Linked DNA regions of Homo sapiens: region 1 is linked to region 2. The links are contacts of gene promoters, found by promoter capture Hi-C in human tissues and cell types (Jung and others, 2019). All regions are on one chromosome and are shown on one strand. Each heading gives the region's core, a stretch centred on a gene start or on the middle of the fragment in contact. The rest is flanking DNA. Distances are from core to core; before and after follow the strand shown.

The links. Contacts are between HindIII fragments. The study calls those that stand out against the background at their distance.
Region 1: a fragment that was not itself captured here is called in contact with the fragment with the promoter of CCDC30 in region 2 in 2 of the 25 tissues and cell types used here (H1 embryonic stem cells and adrenal gland).

The regions. Positions count from the first base shown.
Region 1 is chr1:42,357,901-42,361,965 of GRCh38, reverse strand. No RefSeq gene overlaps it. Among named protein-coding and RNA genes, the nearest start is that of RIMKLA, 21 kb to the left of the region's middle. The HindIII fragment of the contact is 7,040 bases long and covers 1-4,065 here.
Region 2 is chr1:42,461,879-42,465,847 of GRCh38, reverse strand. It overlaps CCDC30 (coiled-coil domain containing 30), which reads right to left and starts at 2,562. Exons shown (of 21, transcript NM_001395517.1): 1 at 1,950-2,562. It also overlaps a transcript of PPCS not described here. RefSeq lists a silencer at 2,616-2,665. The HindIII fragment of the contact is 7,916 bases long and covers 1-3,969 here.

The DNA.
Region 1 (4,065 bases), core at 1,530-4,029, 100 kb after region 2:
TTAGACTTACAGTTAAATAATTGTGGATTTTTTTCCAAATGAAAAAAGTTACATTAATGAATATAATTTGTTATAGATTTCAAAAACGTTCCCTATTAATTTTCCTCAACATTGGTACCTCTTTCTGCTTGTCTGTCAGTGTATGCTAGCTGACAACAAAAGAAATGAATAAGAAGCCAATTAATATTAATAGAAAAAGTCAGAGATAGGAAATAAATTATGTCTAGTTTGATAGGTCACGGTGTGTTTCTATAATTTTATGTTGCATACATCTAATAGAGAACTATTTTGCTAGCTGAAATGCTTTCTCACATAAAGAACTCTAGATGTAAAAAATAATTACCTTTCCCTAAATATGGTGGAGCCAACTACGATTTTTTTCATTTTATTGCAGATACTTTATAAAAATATACTATTTTCCTCTTGTAAAAGAGAAGTTTCCTCCTGGAAAGGCAAGAATATGGGCTTTGGAGCTAGATAAATCTGAGTATTAACATCTTACTAGTTGTATGACTTTGTTAGTTTTTTAAAAATTCCCCTCCCTCCTTCCCTTCCTTCCTTCCCTCCATCTCTCTCTCCCTCTCTGTCTCTCTCTCTTTCTTTTTTCTTTTTCTCTCTTTCTTTCTTTTGACAGGATCTCACTCTGTCACCTAGGCTGGAGTGCAGTGACACAATCATAGATCACTGCAGTCTCGACCTCTTGGGCTCAAGTGATCCTTCTGCCTCAACTTCCCCAGTAGCTTGGACTACAGGCATGCACCACCATGCCCTGCTCATTTTTAAATTTTTTGTAGAGATGGGGTCTCCCTATGTTGCTCGGGCTGGTCTCCAACTCCTGGCCTCAAGTGGTCCTTCCACTTCATCCTTCCAAAGTGCTGGGATTACAAGTGCCTGACCTAGTTGTATGACTGAATACATCACTTAACTGAATAATTTGTAAGAAATTACATGTGGTTGTTTGTAGAAGATACTAATTAAAGCAACTTAAATACAAAAGAGGCATATTTCTTCCTCAGAATAAAGAAGAGCAGAGTTAGGCAGTTCAGGGTTGGTGTGGCTGCTCCTTGGTCATTAAGCATCCAGGATCTCCCCTTTCCATGTGCTCTGCCATCTTTGGCACACACCTTCATGTTCTAGGTTACTCTTGGTCCAATATGGCTTTTGAAGCTCTAGCCACCTCATCTGCCTTCCAAGCAACAGAAAGGACAAACGGAAGAAGGGCAATAATGACAGAGTTCCAAGAAGCCTACCCAGTGACTTCTGCTTACATCTAGTTGGCCACTTTTATCTGCAAGGGAAAGGGAAATGAATTACATGTAATAGTTATTAGTATGGGTTTCAAGAAGCTGATTAAACCACTTGGAGGAAATAGGCAGTGTGCTAACCCACCAGTATAATAGAGAAATATTATGTGTGAGTCTATCCTTGATTTAGCAGCAAAAGCATAAGAACAATAAATATCTTGGGCTTAAATGTAAGTAAGCTAGTTGAAGTGTTTGTAGAAAATACCCTAATGCATATTCTCTCTCTCTCTCTCTCTCTCTCTCTCTCTCTCTCTCTCTCTTTTTGGAGTCAGGGTCTCACTCCTGTCACCCAGTGGTGCTATCATTCCTCACTGCAGCCTCAACTTCCTGGGCTCAGGTGATTCTTCCACCTCAGCCTCCCAAGTAGCTGGTACTACAGGTGCGTGCCACCACACCTGGCTAACTTTTTGTATTTTTAGTAGAGACAGGGTTTCGTCATGTTGCTCAGGCTGGTCTCAAACTCCTGGACTCAAGAGATCCACCCACCTTGGCCTCCCAAAGTGCTGGGACTACAGGTGTGAGCCACCATGCCTGGCTGCATTTTCTCTTAATAATTTGGATTATTTCCCTGCCACTCCCTTGCCTGTACTGTTATTCAATCAAAGTAGGCAAGGGTTAATGCCACGTAGGAAGGAAAAGGGTATTTGGTAGAAGAATTCCTGAGAGACAGGAAGGGAAAGCAGGAAGTTCTTCTGATAATTGGGAAAAGCAGAGAGTGTGAGAGACAAAGGAGTGGGAGGCCAGAAATAAGTGATTTGGGGATACAGATCTGGTGAAATTCCAAAACATGGCTCATGCCCACTTTCCAGATTTTGTTTCAGATGATGCAGGTTCCTTGGAACAACCCTGTATTGGGGTTGGTACCATGTTCAGTATGACTCAGGTAGTAACGGATGAGGGAGAAGTCTGAGAGCAGCCTCCCAGGATCCCACAAGTACATCATGTCAAGGAGAAAGCAGTCAAGAGTTCCTTGGATTCCTCAGGGGACAGATGGTGCTGAGGGGAACCACTTGGCTGCAGGAAGCCTTAGGTTGCATAAGCAGAGCACAGAATGCAGGAATGAAGAATCTCAGTAATAGGCAGCAAAATGATGCCACAAAAGATAAGATACAGCCAAGTTTCCCTCTGTCAGCTTCAACAGTGGGATGAGGGACATCTCAGGGAAGGCCACAGGACAGTGTGGTATTCTCCTCCTGCTTTTATGAGGGGAGAAAATAGCCAGCAGGGAGTGTGAATTTTTTTTTTTTTTTTTGAGACAGGGTCTCATTCTGTCACCCAGACTGGAGTGCAGTGGTGTGACCTCGGCTCACTGTAACCTCTACTTCCCGGGCTCAAGTGATTTTCCTGCCTCAGCCTCCTGAGTAGCTGGGATTACAGGTATGCGCCACTACCACCTGGTTAATTTATTTTGTATTTTTAGTAGAGACAGGGTTTCACCATGTTGGCCAGGCTGGTCTCGAACTCCTGACCTCAAATGATCCACCTACCTTGGCCTCCCAAAGTGCTGGGATCACAGGTACGAGCCACCGCACTCAGCTGGGAGTGTGAATTTTGAATGAATTAAATTCTATTTAAACTCACAGAGACATAAACACAATTTAAAAATTTCCCCCTGCTATTAGTAGGAATTGAGGCTTGAGTCTAAAATAGGAGTCATTACAGAAAGTAACAAATGTTAACATTCTTTCGCACATCTGAGTCATAGTATGCAAATTTCTGTCCTGCTACATGACACAAGGTCTGTACAAAAAAAGCACATGTATAGGTCAATTTCATTTATAAACATAGATTACAAAATCTTAAATAAAACACTGGTAAATTTAATCCATTAGGATAGTAAAAGAATAATACATCACATCCAAGTATTGTTTAGTCCACAAATATAAGTGTAATAGATTTCAAATAGGAAGTGTCCACCAGAAACCCTAAGGCAATAGATATTAGATGGCAAAGTTGTCAGCATACCCTTCTGTGGGAGTTTCAAAGTAGATAATCAAAAACCAGTTGCACAGTTCTCAAGCCCCTCATCCTCAGGGAGGTAAAGAGATGTTGCTGTAGGGCTTCTTTGAAGAGGACTTTTCTGGAGAGACATAAGCTTGTGAGGATTTCTCCTCCCTCTCTCCCAATAAGCAGGGTTGGGTGATACTTTCTTATTCTTAAGCCAAGGGGGAGCCATTTCAATGGGACCACTTGGAGACCTTGATATGTAACTCCTGCAGGTAATGGGATGCAGTGGACCAATATCTAACTCTTGCCTAGGACATGTGAAAGGCAGTGGTGGACTAGCTAGCTGTTCCAACTACAGGGGTGAAGGTCAAATAAATGATTATATCAAGTGGCCTGCACTCCAAGAGTTTGTCAGGGTGGAAGGTTTCTTTGGAAGGAGAGCTGGCTTAAACCCTTTAAAATCTTGCCTAGGAGGATTGCCTGGAAGAGCCATGGAACTCCTAACAGAAAGACCCAGTGTAGACTGGACCACCAAAAAACAGAGGCTGAGATGAGAGTAGCCAATGAAAGGGAGATGGTATCACCTGAATTATATAAGGTACAACAGAATCTTCCTACTGGGTCTTCTGCAGAATCTGTAAATGTGTCCTAAGAGAGAAATAGTTAGCTTTGAATATCTGCCAATCCCAGAAAGCTTGAAACTATTTAACAAAGCTTAGAGAGCCAGTATGTGAAAATGGAGACTAAATTCAACTGCCTCTTTTTTTTCTTTTACCATAACTTGTTTTCTCAACTTTCCCACTCCCCTCCTGCT
Region 2 (3,969 bases), core at 1,313-3,812:
TCTGAGCTGTTGTGGAGGCAGTTCTGTGCATATTAAGATATGGAGCAGCATCCCTGATCTCTACCAACTATATGTCAGTAGCATATCCCTAGTTGTGACAACTAAAAATGCTTACGTACATTGCCAAATGTCTCACAGGGGGCAAAACCCCACCCCACTCCCCAGGTTTAAAACTGTGCTAGAGGTCGGGTACCGTGGCTCACACTTGTAATCCCAGCACTTTGGGAGGCTGAGGTGGGCGGATCACCTGGGGTCAGGAGTTCAAGACTCAGCCTGACCAACGTGGAGAAACCCCGTCTCTACTAAAAATACAAAATTAGCAGGGTGTGGTGGCACATGCCTATAATCCCAGCTACTCAGGAGGCTGAAGCAGGAGAATCACTTGAACCCGGGAGGCGGAGGTTGCAGTGGGCCAAGATCGCGCCATTGCAATACAGCCTGGGCAACAAGAGTGAAATTCCGTCTCAAACAAAACAAAACAAAACAAAAACAAAAACAAAAAAAACTGTCCTAGAATGACAGGAATTTATTTTTTTTGAGACAGGGTCTCACTCTGTAGCCCAGGTTGGAGCGCAGTGGTGCGATCATAGCTCACTGCAGCCTCGATCTCCCAGGATCAAGTGATCCTCCCACCTCAGCCTCCAGAGTAGCCAGGCTACAGGAGTGCTCCACCATGCCTGGCTAATTTTTTGCATTTTTTGTAGAGTCAGGTTTTTGCCATGTTTGCCCAGGTTAAATTGTTTTTAAATTTATGCCTTGCTATTCAATAAATACATATTAGAAGAGGAAAGGAAAGGAAAGCCCCTTACAATATAGCATCTAACACTTTTTTCAAGAGTTAGGTTTTATCCAGTTCCAATTTAATGTGCAAGATTGAAAAGGCTGCAGAACTTGTTTTTGTTTTCCGATCTATTCTAGAGGAGAAAGCTGAATTTCTCAGTATTTAAAAACTTGACCTGGCTCTAAGCATGAGACATCACAAACGACTGCTTCTATTGGACTGAGAAATCAAAATATCCAAATCATTGTAGCCCCAAATAGCTGTTTAAAATGTGTATGTTCTGTATGTCCTCAAAATAGGTTTACTTTTAAACCTGAATACTGAAGAAGAAATAGTAAGATTCAACAAGGAATGCGTATTGTAAGACAAATTAAGTCAAGCTTTCCAAGCTAAAATAAAATTGCACTGGATCTAAATTAATCTTATGCCATATTTAAGGCCCTCTGTTCCAGCCTTTTTAGAACAATTGTGTCTGCTCCCTTGCCAAAAATATTTATTTTCAATCACTCCTTATTGTTTTCATTTATTGGCTTACATCACAAAGAATGTTTTCTGATTCAGAAATTGACAGGAAAAGAAGGCACAAGTACTATTTCAATCATCTCCTCTCCAGAAAATTACATCATATCCCCAGTGTTGGGTTCATATGGGCTTAAAGTTGAAATCCTGTCTTACATGATCACTTTGAATGCCCTTTTCACATTGATAAACACATCAATAAAATTTAATGAAACAAGGAACAACCTTCTTTCATTATGTAAGCCTGAAATGGGTCCAATACTGCAATTTTGATTTTTTTTTCCATTTTCAAAACACACTAGACCTACAGTATTTAATGTTTATATTTACCAATTTGCACTTCTCCTAGTCTCTAGTTTACCCAAGACTGAAAGGTTGCCATAGTGCAAAGAAAAACAGAAAATCTTCCCAATGACTGCAGAGCTGGAGAATGCGAAATACTTAGGTACGCAAAGCATTGTAGCAGGAAAGCAGAAGGAGGTGGTCTATAGATGACAGAGGTGGTGCAGACAAATGGACATTCAATAATGTGCAGCGTGAACAGGGAAAAGTTAAAATGGCTGTGAAATAAGCAGGATGAGAAAGCTGGTGCTTGGAGTGATGAGAGAAGTGGAAAAAGTTGTAGCTTGAAAGGCAGAAGGTAACTGACTTCATGACCTCTGATGTTGAGGATACAAAAGGCCTCCAAATCTTCATCGGGATTCAAGGTTCTGCATGACGAACATCGGCCAAAAAAAATCAGAAAACGGTAGTTCTTTGTTCGCGGGCCTACACGTAGGGGAAAGCTGCCCCTCCGTGGACTTCGTAGTGGCCTGGACCTTCGGGCGTTGTCTGTCCAGGGGCGCGTCTCGACACCTCACCTTTAAGTGAGAAAAGGAACGCCGACCTACCTCGCTGAGGATGTTCTAAGCCCGCTCTAATAATAAGCGGCAGCCTAATACTAAATGCTTGTGGCAGCTGGGTCCGGGGAAAACGGGCGAATTCTCCTTCAGGCGGAATCACTCCAGCCAGGGAATAGAAAGGCCGGGCCAGGAGGGGTTCCCCTCCTGTAGTTTCGGACCATACTGGGGAGAAGCAGAAAAGGCCCGTAATGCGGAAAAGAGGGGAGAATGGGTGCTTTCCTCCTTGGGGCTGAGGCAGGAACCTCAAGAACCAAGTCGGAAATTTTCCTGCGGAGGGTGCCGCGAGCGTCCCGGGGTCGCTCGGCCCCTACGCGCTCAGCTGCTAGCTGCAGGTGCCTACGGAGACCTGGGCGTCATAGCAACCGCGCTCGCCGCAGAGACGCAGACGCGTCCTTCCGGCGGGAACCATAGAGACGACGCACGCCAGTGGAACCAGAGACTGTGGTTCTTGTGGAGACTGTTATTATGTCTCACACCATTGGCCTTCGGGTCGGGGGCGGAGTTGTCCCGGCCGTATCGATAGTACAACTCATTCCATTGGCTTTGGAGACAGCTGTAACCATGGTAACATGTCGAGCGTTTGCGACTTAGCGAATACATTTTGTCTTGGGGCGTTCTAGCTCTCAAAGAACTTCCCGCCAGGACTCAGCTGGAGCCCCTGCCTACTAACCTTGGATTTATTTTTCTACAAGTTCCTTCATTCTTAAAGGGGCAGGAAGTGCTAGCTCAAGAGCTCTGAATTTTAGGCCTAGATCGTGTCACTAGCCACGTGGGGCACGTAAGATAAATCACAATTTTTGGATCCAGCTTATTATTGTAAAAAGGAAGAAACTGGGCTTGACTAGAATTGTCCCTAAGGCTGAAGCCCTTTAGAAGTCCTAAGCACTGAAAATTCAGGTAAGATGAACGTTATCTTCCCCACCTATGTAATGCAAAATAAAAACTTATAAATGACACAAAATTTAACATACTCAATTTATATCATCTTTTTAGATGCTCTTATTGCAAAATTCTAGTTAATTATCAAACTCGATTTTAGTCATGTTTTGGGGGCCCTTGCTTTGCTGGTATCCCAAACACAACATTTCTTGGTCTTACTCTAGTTCCCCAAGAGAATACTTCACAAATTTTTGCTGGTTCTACATGCATTATCCGGACGTATTTTACTCTTTATATAATAAAGTGCCTCAACCTCTCCTTCTGGCACTAGACCTCTTGCAAGTGTTTTTTTCTGAACTAAAAGGCTCACCACCAGCACTTGTAGCCCACTTCACTCCTGTTTATCAGTTTAAGTATCACCTACTCAGGGAGACATTCCTTGATCCTCCATCCAAGATCAGGTTCTTAGTTACCCTCATTGACTCATGTTCCTTTTCTTTATACACTTCCATTTGCTATTAAAACACACACACACACTCTCCCCCACCCCCCTGGAATTTTTACTTGTGTAAATAATCTAAGTGCTCTGAATATAAATTAAACTGAAGTGGAAAACACTAAATAATTTCATGTAGAACACTGATTGTTTTTAAGCGTTAACAAGACAGGATATAAAATTCCCAAGGGAGGTAATAATTATGGTAAAGACAAACATTAAGATCACTTCTACTTTTAACCCCATATATCCCCATTGTACATTCAAAGATGACAGTCATCATCCACATAAAGCTATGAATGCAGAGAAGAACATATTCTACTTCTTGCCCTTCAGTACTGCAGCCACTGACAGAGCCCACTGCTTTTGGGGTTTTGCAAATTGGACCTGAA